Linked DNA regions of Homo sapiens: region 2 is linked to region 1. Evidence: promoter capture Hi-C in human tissues and cell types (Jung and others, 2019). All regions are on one chromosome and are shown on one strand. The core of a region is centred on a gene start or on the middle of the fragment in contact, and the rest is flanking DNA. Distances in the headings are between cores, read along the strand shown.

What was found. The method cuts DNA at HindIII sites, captures the fragments that hold promoters and counts their contacts. A contact is called where the count stands out against the background at its distance.
Region 2: a contact is called between a fragment that was not itself captured here and the fragment with the promoter of TYR in region 1, in 1 of the 25 tissues and cell types used here (dorsolateral prefrontal cortex).

Annotation. Positions count from the first base shown.
Region 1 is chr11:89,175,410-89,181,341 of GRCh38, reverse strand. TYR (tyrosinase) reads right to left here and starts at 3,467. Exons shown (of 5, transcript NM_000372.5): 1 at 2,570-3,467. The coding sequence starts at 3,388. RefSeq lists an enhancer at 1-288. The HindIII fragment of the contact is 5,969 bases long and covers 2,353-5,932 here.
Region 2 is chr11:87,932,060-87,937,991 of GRCh38, reverse strand. It overlaps a transcript of RAB38 not described here. Among named protein-coding and RNA genes, the nearest start is that of LINC02711, 220 kb to the right of the region's middle. The HindIII fragment of the contact is 3,215 bases long and covers 1,696-4,910 here.

The DNA.
Region 1 (5,932 bases), core at 2,218-4,717:
AGGGTTTAAAAATGCAAACACTTGAAGGCCCAGCTTGATGGCTCAGGCCTGCAATCCCAGCACTTTGGGAGTCTGAGGCGGACAGATCACTTGAGGTCAAGAGTTCAAGAGCAGCCTGGCCAACAGGGTGAAACCCCATCTCTACTAAAAGTACAAAAAATTAGCTGGGAGTGGTGGCAGGCCCCTGTAGTCCCAGCTACTAGGGAGACTGAGGCAGAAGAATCACTTGAACCTGGGAGGCGGAAGTTGCAGCGTATGGAGATTGCACCACTGCCAAAAAAAAAGACTCTTGAACTTTACAACCTCACAGGAGACCACCTGAATCTGAATTTCTGGCAAGAAATTAGGTGCATAAAAACCTTGCAACAGTTTTTTATTTTTACTTTTTAAATGGTTTTTTGGAAGCTTCCTAGGTGATTTTGACATTGAGAACTCTGAATTAAAGCAATGTAAGCAATCGATCTTAACTATTTTAAGGACTTTGTAACCAGAGAGGCTGTGTGAAGGAATGGAAACAGCCAATGTGAGTGGGGTTTGACTGTCACCTTTGCCACTAATAAGCCCTTGACACTACTAAAACATAGTAGGTGAGCAGCAAATGCTCATTTCACCTTTCTTAAACTGTGGTTTGCTTGTTTCTCTTCAGTCATCTTCCTTCCACTCTGTTTTCTAATTTTATTTTTGAAACCTGTTTCTACACAGCAATTTAATCATAGAACAAGGTTGAAGTTGATAATTGTATCAATTTCAGTTCAGGGCTTACTGACTTGACACACTTTTTTTTTTTTCTAGAGAGTATTAAAATTGAACACATTCATGAAGAGAGAAAAAGGAAAAAGTTCTGCTTGACAATTAATAAGTAATTAGGAAAATAATACTCATACAGTTGTGGATAGCATCTGGTATTACACATCTCATGTAATTAAAAATTAATGTGTATCTATCTATTAAGATTTCCTGTGGATGTTGCAGCTTATTTTGGTAATTTAGACAGTCCTCCAACCTTTCTGGGTCAAGTTAAGCCACATAGTTAAATAAAGCATCATAACTGACTGAAAATCCCATGTCCAATCCTGGCAGTTTTTTAAACAGGAACAGAGGATATAAGAGCTAGATGAGAGTTTGCACATTATAGATTAAGGTAGGAGGTCTGAAAGCTTATTGAAATAGATTTTTTTCCAAGCACATTTTTTCTAGCCTTTCCTGCACAAAACCCATTACATTTGGTAAATAGCTGACTAATAACACCAGAAATTATACAGTGGCTATTTTTTAAATGAACTTCAGTAGACTCCATTGGGATGGGGTACAAACTTGGTTGGGCGGAGAAGGCCATCTACATTTCAAAACTGCAGATTGTGGGAAATTGAGTGCAAGATTCTTCCCATCCCATTCACATATTGGGCTTAATTTCATAGAGCATTGCTAGTCAAAAGTGCTGTATTAGAAATTTTTGGAAGACAGGCAGAAAAGCATTCCTTTAACATATGGTTTTAAAATGATAAATAATTAAGCACATATTTCTTTGGTTACCATTTGCCCCTAATTCAGAATGAAAAATTCAGAATAGATGAAATAGGAATTCAATTCCAAATAGTAATGCTTCATATTTTATCTAAAGTTTTCAAGGACTGAGAAAGAAAGCTAACTTCTAATGCAGCCTAAAGAAAAAGTGAGACAGAATGAACCAGATCCTTTAGCTAAAGATATCACAGCAGTCACATCCTTGGAAATAGGATACAGTGGTCATACAGCTGGACTATTAGAGAATAAATGTGATTTTTTTTTTGCTGCTTATTAGCTGTATGATCTTATACAAGTTACCTGATACCTTTATAACCTCTAAAATAGGGAAAGACTGATAAGAGCATGAAATGAACGAATGCACAAAAACACTTGCCACGGGGTTTGCACATGCTAGATGTTCAATGAATATTAGCCATCTTCATTATTTACCTGTTTAAGCCTCAGGATCTTCATACTTTCAAAAATGAAGATCTAATCCAATAATTATTTCCCAAACATTCCTGATTAAAAGAATCACCATAGACATTTAGTAAATTGTGCCTTCTCGGGACTCTCTCCTGAAGATTCTGACCAATTAGTCTGGGATAAGGCCAGGAATTTGCATTTTTAATTTGTACACCATATGAATCCTGTTGTGAATAATAATTTTATTTTTCAGAGACATTAGTGTATATCATTTGTTTTTTTAATCATCCAGATATTCATTCATTCACTCATTTATTCAATTCACAAAATACATAATGCACTATTGCCATTTTTAAAGGCACCATACTATGTTCTGGGAAATGCAATAATGAATCAAGTACTCTGTTCATTGCAGTTTAGAAACCTAGTAGAAGTCATTAAACAAATAATTACACAAATATCTAAAGTGTGCTATAAAGGAAAAATACAAGATACATTGAGAGTTCTTAACAGGGCACCATTTCTGTCCTTGATGGGGGCTGCAATGAGTGTTCAGGTGAGAAGTTTATACCCTGCCTGAAGAAGTGATTGTTAAGGTTCCTCCCTACTCTGACATCGTATATCTAGCATATCTTACCTGCCAAGAGGAGAAGAATGATGCTGGGCTGAGTAAGTTAGGATTTGTGGGGTGCTGACCTCCCATGTACTCATCTGTGCAAATGTCACACTTTTCTGCATCCCGCCAGTCCCAATATGGAATAGTGAAGTTTTCATCTCCTGTCAGCTTCTGGATTTCTTGTTCCCACCGCAACAAGAAGAGTCTATGCCAAGGCAGAAAAGCTGGTGCTTCATGGGCAAAATCAATGTCTCTCCAGATTTCAGATCCCCCAAGCAGTGCATCCATTGACACATAATAATGCATCCAGACAAAGAGGTCATAAATATTGATGTCGTTAAACATGGGTGTTGATCCATTTTTCATTTGGCCATAGGTCCCTATGGGGATGACATAGTCTGAGCTGATGGTATGCTTTGCTAAAGTGAGGTAGGCAAAAAATTTGTCCTTCTCTGGGGCACTCAAATCGAAGATGTTTCTTCTCACCAAGAGTCGTCTCTCTGTGCAGTTTGGTCCCCAAAAGCCAAACTTGCAGTTTCCACAGTTGAATCCCATGAAGTTGCCAGAGCACTGGCAGGTCCTATTATAAAAGACGGAAGGCCACGACTCCCGGTCATCCACCCCTGTGAAGGGAAATTGAGGCCCAAGTGGTGCATTGGACAGAAGGATATTCTGACAGGAACCTCTGCCTGAAAGCTGGCCACAGGGACTCCTGTCCCCGCTCCACGGTGGACAGCATTCCTTCTCCATCAGGTTCTTAGAGGAGACACAGGCTCTAGGGAAATGGCCAGCGGAGGTCTGGAAACTCCACAGCAGGCAGTACAAAACAGCCAGGAGCATTCTTCCTCTAGTCCTCACAAGGTCTGCAGGAACTGGCTAATTGGAGTCACAGATTTCTCTTTCCAGCTACTACTACAGTGATTATCACATGTCTTGGCTGAGACCTATATAATACCACTCCCACCTCCAGCATCAAACACTTTTAGTCTTTATCTTAAGCTTTCATCCTCTGAAAAGCACATGACTGACTTTTCTTTCGAATTGGCTCGTATCCCACCAGTGGGATAGGCCTATGTTAAAGTGAAAAACTCTATTCACCATTAATAGTTTAATTCTTATGGTTAGAATATTAACAATAAGGTTAGTAATAATAATGCCTGACCTAAGCAAACCCAGTTAATAGACTACAAAACTAATGATGATTTGACCTTGCAAATGAGAGGTAGTGTCAGGAATAGAGCTTCTCTTATTAAGAAAGTTTAGGAAGTATTAAAGATTATGGGTTTAAGGTAGTTATTTCTCAGAGACCATAAAGAGGCTACAATGTTTGAAGAACTCAATATGCAGAGAGAGATTGTCTTCAGAGCCCAGACAGAATTCCTTATATGTTATTGAATTTCAGTTTGTTTATTTTATACAACGTATCAGAAAAAAAAATCTTTCTGATACTTTTCTCTGATAATCCTGATGCATTTTCTGACAACTCCTAAGGATAGCTCACTTTGATAACTGGGCGATTTGCTTCATTGTGGGGATATCTCACGTTAAAGAGCTCTCTCTCTCTCTCTCCCTCTCTCTCTCTTTCTCTCTCTCTCTCCCTCTCTCTCTCTCTCTCTCCCTCTCTCTCCCTCTCTCTCCCTCTCCCTCTCTCTCCCCTCTATCCTCTCTCTCTCTCCTCTGTCTCTCTCCTCTCTCTCTCTCCCCTCTATCCTCTCTCTCTCTCCTCTGTCTCTCTCCTCTCTCCTTTCTCTCTCTCTCCTTTCTCCTCTCTCCTTTCTCTCTCTCTCCAATGCTGTAGCCATATTGTTTTTCCTATCAATTCTAGAAATTAGGAATTTTTTTGAAAATGTTTTTGCAATGTGTTTTGTGCAAAGACATTCTCAATTAGTGAGTGAATGAAAAAGGAGAAATATATTTCTTCAGCAAATATTTTTGATCATCTCAATTATTTCAAAAGTTCCTTCTCTGTGTATAGTGAGCTAGGGAAACTGAAATTCATGGCTAAAAATACAACTTAACTATGTTAGTTTTCAAATGAGTAGTATAGATAATTAAGTCAAACTTTTAATGGAAGAGATGTATTTGTGGGCTGATATTAGAAAGAATTGCATAATTTTGATAATAATATGCAAGTGTTATCAAGGGAGTGCCTTGATTAATATCTCAAAGAGTGGGCATAAGTTGGACAGACAACTGAGAATATATACAACTCCTGAGACAGGGGAAATGTGTAGAGGTGGGAACTGTGTTTCATCTATCAAGTTGGAGCATTAAACTGAGGCCTCCACACATCATAGAAAATTAAACCTGGGACCAATCTATGGAGGGGCTTAAAGACTTTGTGTTTTGAACTAAAGTGAGCTCTTTTGTGAGCTGAAGAGTGACAAAAAGAGTAGTCAAATCAAAGTTGCCCCTCTGAAGCTTCCTTCTTTGTCCTCTTCCATACTTAAAGTTTGGGGGTCCACTGAAATTAATGAAAAAGTAAAAGAAAGTGAAAGCTTTGAGGAGATCATTAGTATTTGGGTCCTTAGCTGAAGCATTCTAGGAAAAGCCATCACTATTTCGATGATGCCGGAATGTCAGACTGCTCTGCTTTTTTCTCTTTTTCTGGAGTTTGTCTCATTATTTAAGAAAAAAAAAAGTCACGGCTCATCCAAACAACTTTTTTGAGACAGAACAGGCTTTGCAGGTACATGGAGCAGTGTGTGGGTGAAGAGGAAGAGAAGTTTCCATGGAAATGCTGCCTCTGGCTGGAATCAGGAAGTCATCACATGATCTCCACAAGGAGGCTTAATCTTTTCTCTCTCTCTTTCTTTCAGAGCCACAAAGAGATTAACACAAGACTTCTTGTCCCTGGGGAGCCTTGGGTCTGCATTACTTGTAACCACATGTGGCATTTCATAATTCTTTTCTATGTTCTCGAAGACAGAATTCAACTTATCATGTTCAATTTAATTAAGAATTTTGCCTTACACTTGCCCCACTATCAGGCTTCCAGTGAAATAACTTAGAAAGTCTTCATCATGCTCTTTAAGGGCTTTTGTGTCTGCTGTCCCGTCTATTTTTCATAATCTTTAGAGCCTGCTTAGAGGAATTACTAAAATGTACTTAGTCCTATTAATTTCCTTTACAGGGTTGATTTTCTTAAATAGGACAGACCTCTTTATTTGTCCCCAGTATAGGCCACTGTCTCCTCTGGCCTACACGTGTTGTAGTCTTCAGTCTTATTGCCAGTCTTGGGTTCCTAAATATTAAATCCCATTTAGAGTGCTTTCTTCCTGACTCTAGATGTACATTCTTTAGGTATCTTCAGTTGTGGGATTTGAAAGGGTCCTATCCTATTTTGGGAGATTATTGTATGACCTGACATGAAATTACTGCAAT
Region 2 (5,932 bases), core at 2,054-4,553, 1.2 Mb after region 1:
GAAAGATCTGAAAGTGAATAAAAAAGATATTCAACAGATACAAACACCAAAATTCCAGAAATGTTAGAATTACCTGACAAGATTGTAAAGCATACATGATAAAAAAAAAAAAAAAAAAAAACACTTCAATGAGCAATTACAAACATACCTGAAACAAATGAAGAAAATAGAAAGCGCCGGCCAAGCAATAGAAACTGCCAGTGAAGTAATAGAAGATATTATGAAGAACCAAATGGAGATTTTACATCTAAACCTAAAATAAGTAAAACACTCAGTAGACGGGCTTAACAGCAGAATTTTTCCAAATGGATCAATTCTTTGAAAACATAAACTACCACCACTCGCCTAATACAAAATAGATTATTGCAATAGTCATAACTATTCATGAAATTGGATTTATAATTTTAAAACTCCCTCTAAAATATCTCCAGGACCAGATGGTTGCACTAGATAATTCTAGAAGAATTAAAGCCAATTTGACACAATGTCTTCCAGAAAATAGAAGAGGATGAAATACTTCTCAGTACATTTTATGAAACTGATAATGCTCCAATATAAAAACCAACCAGACAGTACAAAACAATCTACAAACCAATATCCTCATAATATACTTAACAAAATACTAGCAAATAGAATTATGATATATATATATATATATATATATATATATATATATATATGATGACCAAGTAAAAGTTATTTGAGGAATGCAAGGCTGGTTCTGTACTCTAAATCAATTAATGCAATTACCATATTAATAAGCTAAAGAAGAGCAGTTACCTGATCACATCAATGAAAGCAGAAAAGGCATTTGACCTAACTCAATACTCATTCAGATAATAATGTCAGAAAAGTAGTTGGTTAAGAAAGAACATCTACAACAAAGCTTATATCTATAATTATACTTCATGATTAAAGACTGAATATTTTTCCCCTAAAAGCAAGAATAAGGCAAGGATATCCATTCTAACCACTCTTATTCAACATGTTGCTAAAAGTTCTCGCCATTGTAGTAAGGCAAGGAAAGAAATGAAAATGCATACAAATCTAAAAGGAAGAAATAAATGCAAATGGCATGGTTGTATACATAGAAATTACCAAGCAATTTACAAAAACAAAACACAAAACCTCCTAGAAATAATAACCAAGTTTAGGAAGGTTGCATAATACAAAATAAACATACAACAATCAATTATAATCCCATACAGTATATACTTCAGTTCTCCCCAAATTGATAATCAGGTTTAATGTAATTTCTACCACAATCCCACCAAGATTTTTTGTGGTTATAGACAAAACTATTCTAAAATTTATATTGGAAGGCTAATGAGCTAGAATATCTCAAACTATTTTAACAAAGAAGAATAAAGTGGAAGGAATCCATCTACCCAAATTTCAAAACTTGCTTTTTAGGTACAATCATTAAGACTGTGTGTGTGGTACTGATGGTGTGGTATGGATGGAGTGTGTCAGGGCTGGAGGGGTAGGCACATAAATCAATGGAACAGAAGAACCCAGAAGTATTTCCATACAAATGTACCCAACTGATATTTTGACAAAGGTGCAAAAGCAATTTAATGGAGGAAAGATTACTTTTTCAATAAATGATGTTGGAACAATTGGACATCCAATAAATAATAAATAAATAAAAATAAAGCTTGGCCTGTCTCACACCTTCTACATTAATTCAAAATGGAACTTGGGCTTACATATAAAATATGTAACTATCAAGCTTTTAGAATAAAAACATAAGAAAAAATCTTGTAAGTCTAACTAGGCAAAGAGTTTATAGACTTGACACCAAAAGCACGATCCATAAAAGAAAAAAATTGATAATTTGGACTTCATGAATATTTTTAAAATTTGTTCTACAAAAGAACCTACTGAGAAGATGAAAAGAGAAACTACAGAGGAAAATATATTTGCAACCTACAAAGAACTAGTGTTTATAATAAAGAATTCTCAAAACTCAACAGCAAATAAAACAAATAGCAAACAATTCAATTAGAACATGGGCACAAGACATAAAGAGACATTTCACCAAGATACAGATAGCAAATAAGCACATGAACGATATAAAACATCATTAGCTATTAAAGTGTAAATTAAAACCACTCTGAGTGAATAAAAATCAATTCTAAGTGGAGTGCATAATGTTTCATTCTATTTACATATCATTCTTCAAATGACAAAATTATAAAATGAAGAACAGGTTCATGGATGCAGGGAGTAGGGGTGGGGAGTGGGTGTGACTATAAAAGGACAAGAGAGATCCTTATGGTAATGGAAATGTTCTAAATCTTGGCTATATCCATGTCAACATCTTGATTGTATTGTACTATAAGTTTTCAAGAGGTTACCACTGGGGAAAACAGTAAGGCTACACTGGACCTATCTGCATTATTTCTTACAACTTCATGTGAATCTATAATTAATTCAAAATAAAATAATAATAAAAATAATAATTAACTGTAACTGGTTCTTATTCCAAAAAAGGAACAAAATTAATCTCAGGACAGAATAACAAACTCTACAGAAATCTGTGTGAAAAAGAAGTCTTCTGAAGGGCATGGTCTGAAATGAGAAAGGATGGGGGTGAAGAGGGTTGAATTATAGAAAATAATAATTTTGAATCATTAGGGGAATCCCAGGAGAGAAACAGTAAAGGGATCAGGAAATGAAGAAAAGGGGGAAGATGTGTGGAAGTTCAAAATCAAAGGATCAGGAGCATATTGGAAGAGCCCCCTCAAAATAAGGCCAAAGAGGATTTTCACATGGATGAAATGACTGAGGAGACGTTTTTTAAAAGGATATCTAATATTTAACTTTCAGTAACTTGTCATATAGCAACCCTTAATTTCTCCAAATCTTCTAGAACAGCTTTTTGGTTTGTGTCCCCTTGAAGGAGACTGGAAGACAAGAAGAAGGGAGGAGAGACCCGCCCTTCCCGAAGTGCTTGCAGTTTCTACCAGCATTAGCCTGGCAAGGGCTCTACACCGTGGCCACAGGACACTGTTTCCAGGCTCCACACAGTCTCTTCCTCAAGCTTCTACATTCCAATATCTCCAAACTCTTCTCTTTGTTATCCCATCTCATCGCTGCCCCATCTCTTCCCATTGTAGCTGTTTGCTGCAACTGCTACCTCAGTGTTACCTTAACATTCCTTTTTCATCTTTTCTATTCCCTAATGTATTTTAAACCAAACCTTTGTATTTTTTTCTGTTAAATACCTCAGATGGTTTCTTTTTTCCTGATCAGACTTTAATATTATACTCATATAAATAATATTCATGAGTGCAAGATTTTTATAAGCACAGATGGAGACAAGTGGTAGGCTTGGAAGATGTACAGACTGAAAGCTTCACTTCCTTTGAGACTGACCACAGGCAGAACTAGGAAAGTAATTTAGCATTGCACGAGAGTACTGCCTCAAATCAATAGCCTTTTATGTTAACATGACATTTATGTTTTCCCAAATAATAAATTCAACTGGGTCAACTTTTTGCCACTAGGTATAAAATAACACTTTTGGGTGGATTTTCTGCCAGGCTACCTATGAGGTTAGCATATAATTCATTTATTTGTCTTTTAATCCAATCTGTTATGATGACATGGCAGAAATAATTTTACTAGAAAATGTATAATTATCATACCAAAGGGGGATCGAAAGTTAGAAAGAATCAAGTTGAAACTTCAATTGTGTCTTAAATGGTGCTTCTGTAGGTAATAAATAGGCCCCTATTTCATGGATTTACCTTTTAGTCATTGCAGTGTCTGTTTCAAGCACACAGGCATGTTATTTGTAATTGAGATACACATCCAGATTTCAGTTTAACTTGGAAGACCTCTATAAAAAGGCTGATTATACTGAAGTGCTTCACTGAGTGGTCCAGGACAATCACGGATTAATTCAGGGAGATGCTGGAAGGTTATTGGCTGTGTAAGAAAGGACTTGAAAGGAACACCCTACCCAGACATGGTAGAAACCCCAGACTAAGAAAGGACCACCCTACCCAGACGTGGTAGAAACCCCTGCACAAACTTCTCTTCATGATGCCTTTCTGCCATGTTCCAGGTTTTTCTCTGCCTTCTGGTGGCAGCAAACTCCGTCCTCAAGAACTCTTAAGTTGTTGCTTCTCAACTTCTCAACAAGGCAGAGAAGCTTGGGTAGAGAAAGGTGTTTCAGCTAATATTTCCTAAATTGGAAAATGCCAATGTAGGTAGGACTTCCCGTCTTGCCATTGGTGGATCTGCTTATGCTAAAGGGAATTTTTTTTTTTTTTTGGCTCCATGCAAACTGAAAAATCTAGGCTTCTTTTTAAGTATGAATTGATTCCCAGCTCAAAAAATGTTATCCACCTCTTGGCTGTTTCCTCAGAGCTACTTCAGTTCTCAATTCTGCCCAGAGACACCAAGGAAGCTTCACATTTACAGAATCTCATTCCTGTCTAGCAGTTGAGAGTTTGTTTTTCTGAAAGCTTAAGTCTTCAGGTTGTGCCTTCTCTGGCAGACCTACTTTGAGACATGTGCCCATTTTTAAACTGCACTGAGTCAAACAGGATAGAATGAGGTAACTAAGCTGGACCAGAACACATGTTCTACTCATGTATTCTGTGAGTGAAATCAACTTTACCTGAAAAATATGAGATGGGAGTGGGCAAGGAACGGCTCAGAGGAAAATGAGGATACCAGTGCTACAAAAAGGAATGGATCTGGGGAAACAACAACAACAAAAAGCCCACTATATGTTATTTCTGTTATAAAGCCATGTTGTAGCATCTCTACCTGAGTACTAATTTCTTTTCATATCTCTGATTTGGCTTCTCTGCTTTCAAAACACCTAGCAGTTGCCTGGCTAATCTGGAACTTGAGTCAGTTTATTTCTTGCTGTATTCACTGAGGATTCATCTTTGTTCTAAGATGAACCTCCATACGTGATATTGTGGGTGGTGCATAACAGATGGTGCTGTTGTCTTTTTAAGGTCATTGATAGGGCTCTTCAGAAAATATAACTTAGCAGACTGTGGATTCTGTGTTCTCATAACTGCAACCAAGATGACTTGACTCTAAATTAAGAAAATAAAATTTCAATAATATGACCTGTCCCTAGGTCCCTTTGCTGCTGATTCTAGAATTAGGAATGCCCAATTTAGAAGATCTGAGTAACCAGTACAGTTTGAAGCCTGGGACACAGCTGCCATTAAGGTATGAGTAGATGAGTCAGGTGGTTTTTGCCTACACACTGGACAACTAGCTGCAGCTGTACTTACACAAAAGGATGGGGAGAAGAGGATGCTTGTAGATGGGATCTAAATGCTTATCTAACACAGCAGAGAGCAAGCTTTGAGAAATTGTTTTGTTGGGTTTTTCATGGGAGGCTGATTACACTAGGATCTAAGTGAGATGTATCTTATTTTTCTGGGCAAAAATCCATTAGAAGAACTAAAGGAAGTTCAGAAGAGATTTGGTGAGATGATAGAAGGAAACTGTTGTGACAGCTTGGTTATGCTTATAGAGAACTAAGCATGCAGAGTCACCATGCTACCCAGACATGTTAGAAACCCCTGCACAAACTTCTCTTCATGATGCCTTTCTGCCATGTTCCAGGTTTTTCTCTCCCTTCTGGTGGCACAAAACTCTGTCCTCAACAACTCTTAAGTTGTTGCTTCTCAGCCTGAATCTCTCTCTCTTTTTTTAAAAATTTTACTTTAAGTTCTGGGATACATGTGCAGAACGTGCAGGTTTGTTACATAGGTATACATGTGCCATGGTGGTTTGCTGTACCTATCAACCTCTCATGTAGGTTTCAAGCCCAGCATGCATTAGGTATTTGTCCTAATGTTCTCCCTCCCCTTGCCCCCCTTGAATCTCTTATTTAGCTAATCTCCCTGGCTATAGCTGGTAGGCTTGGGGTGGACATGGTGTTCAAACC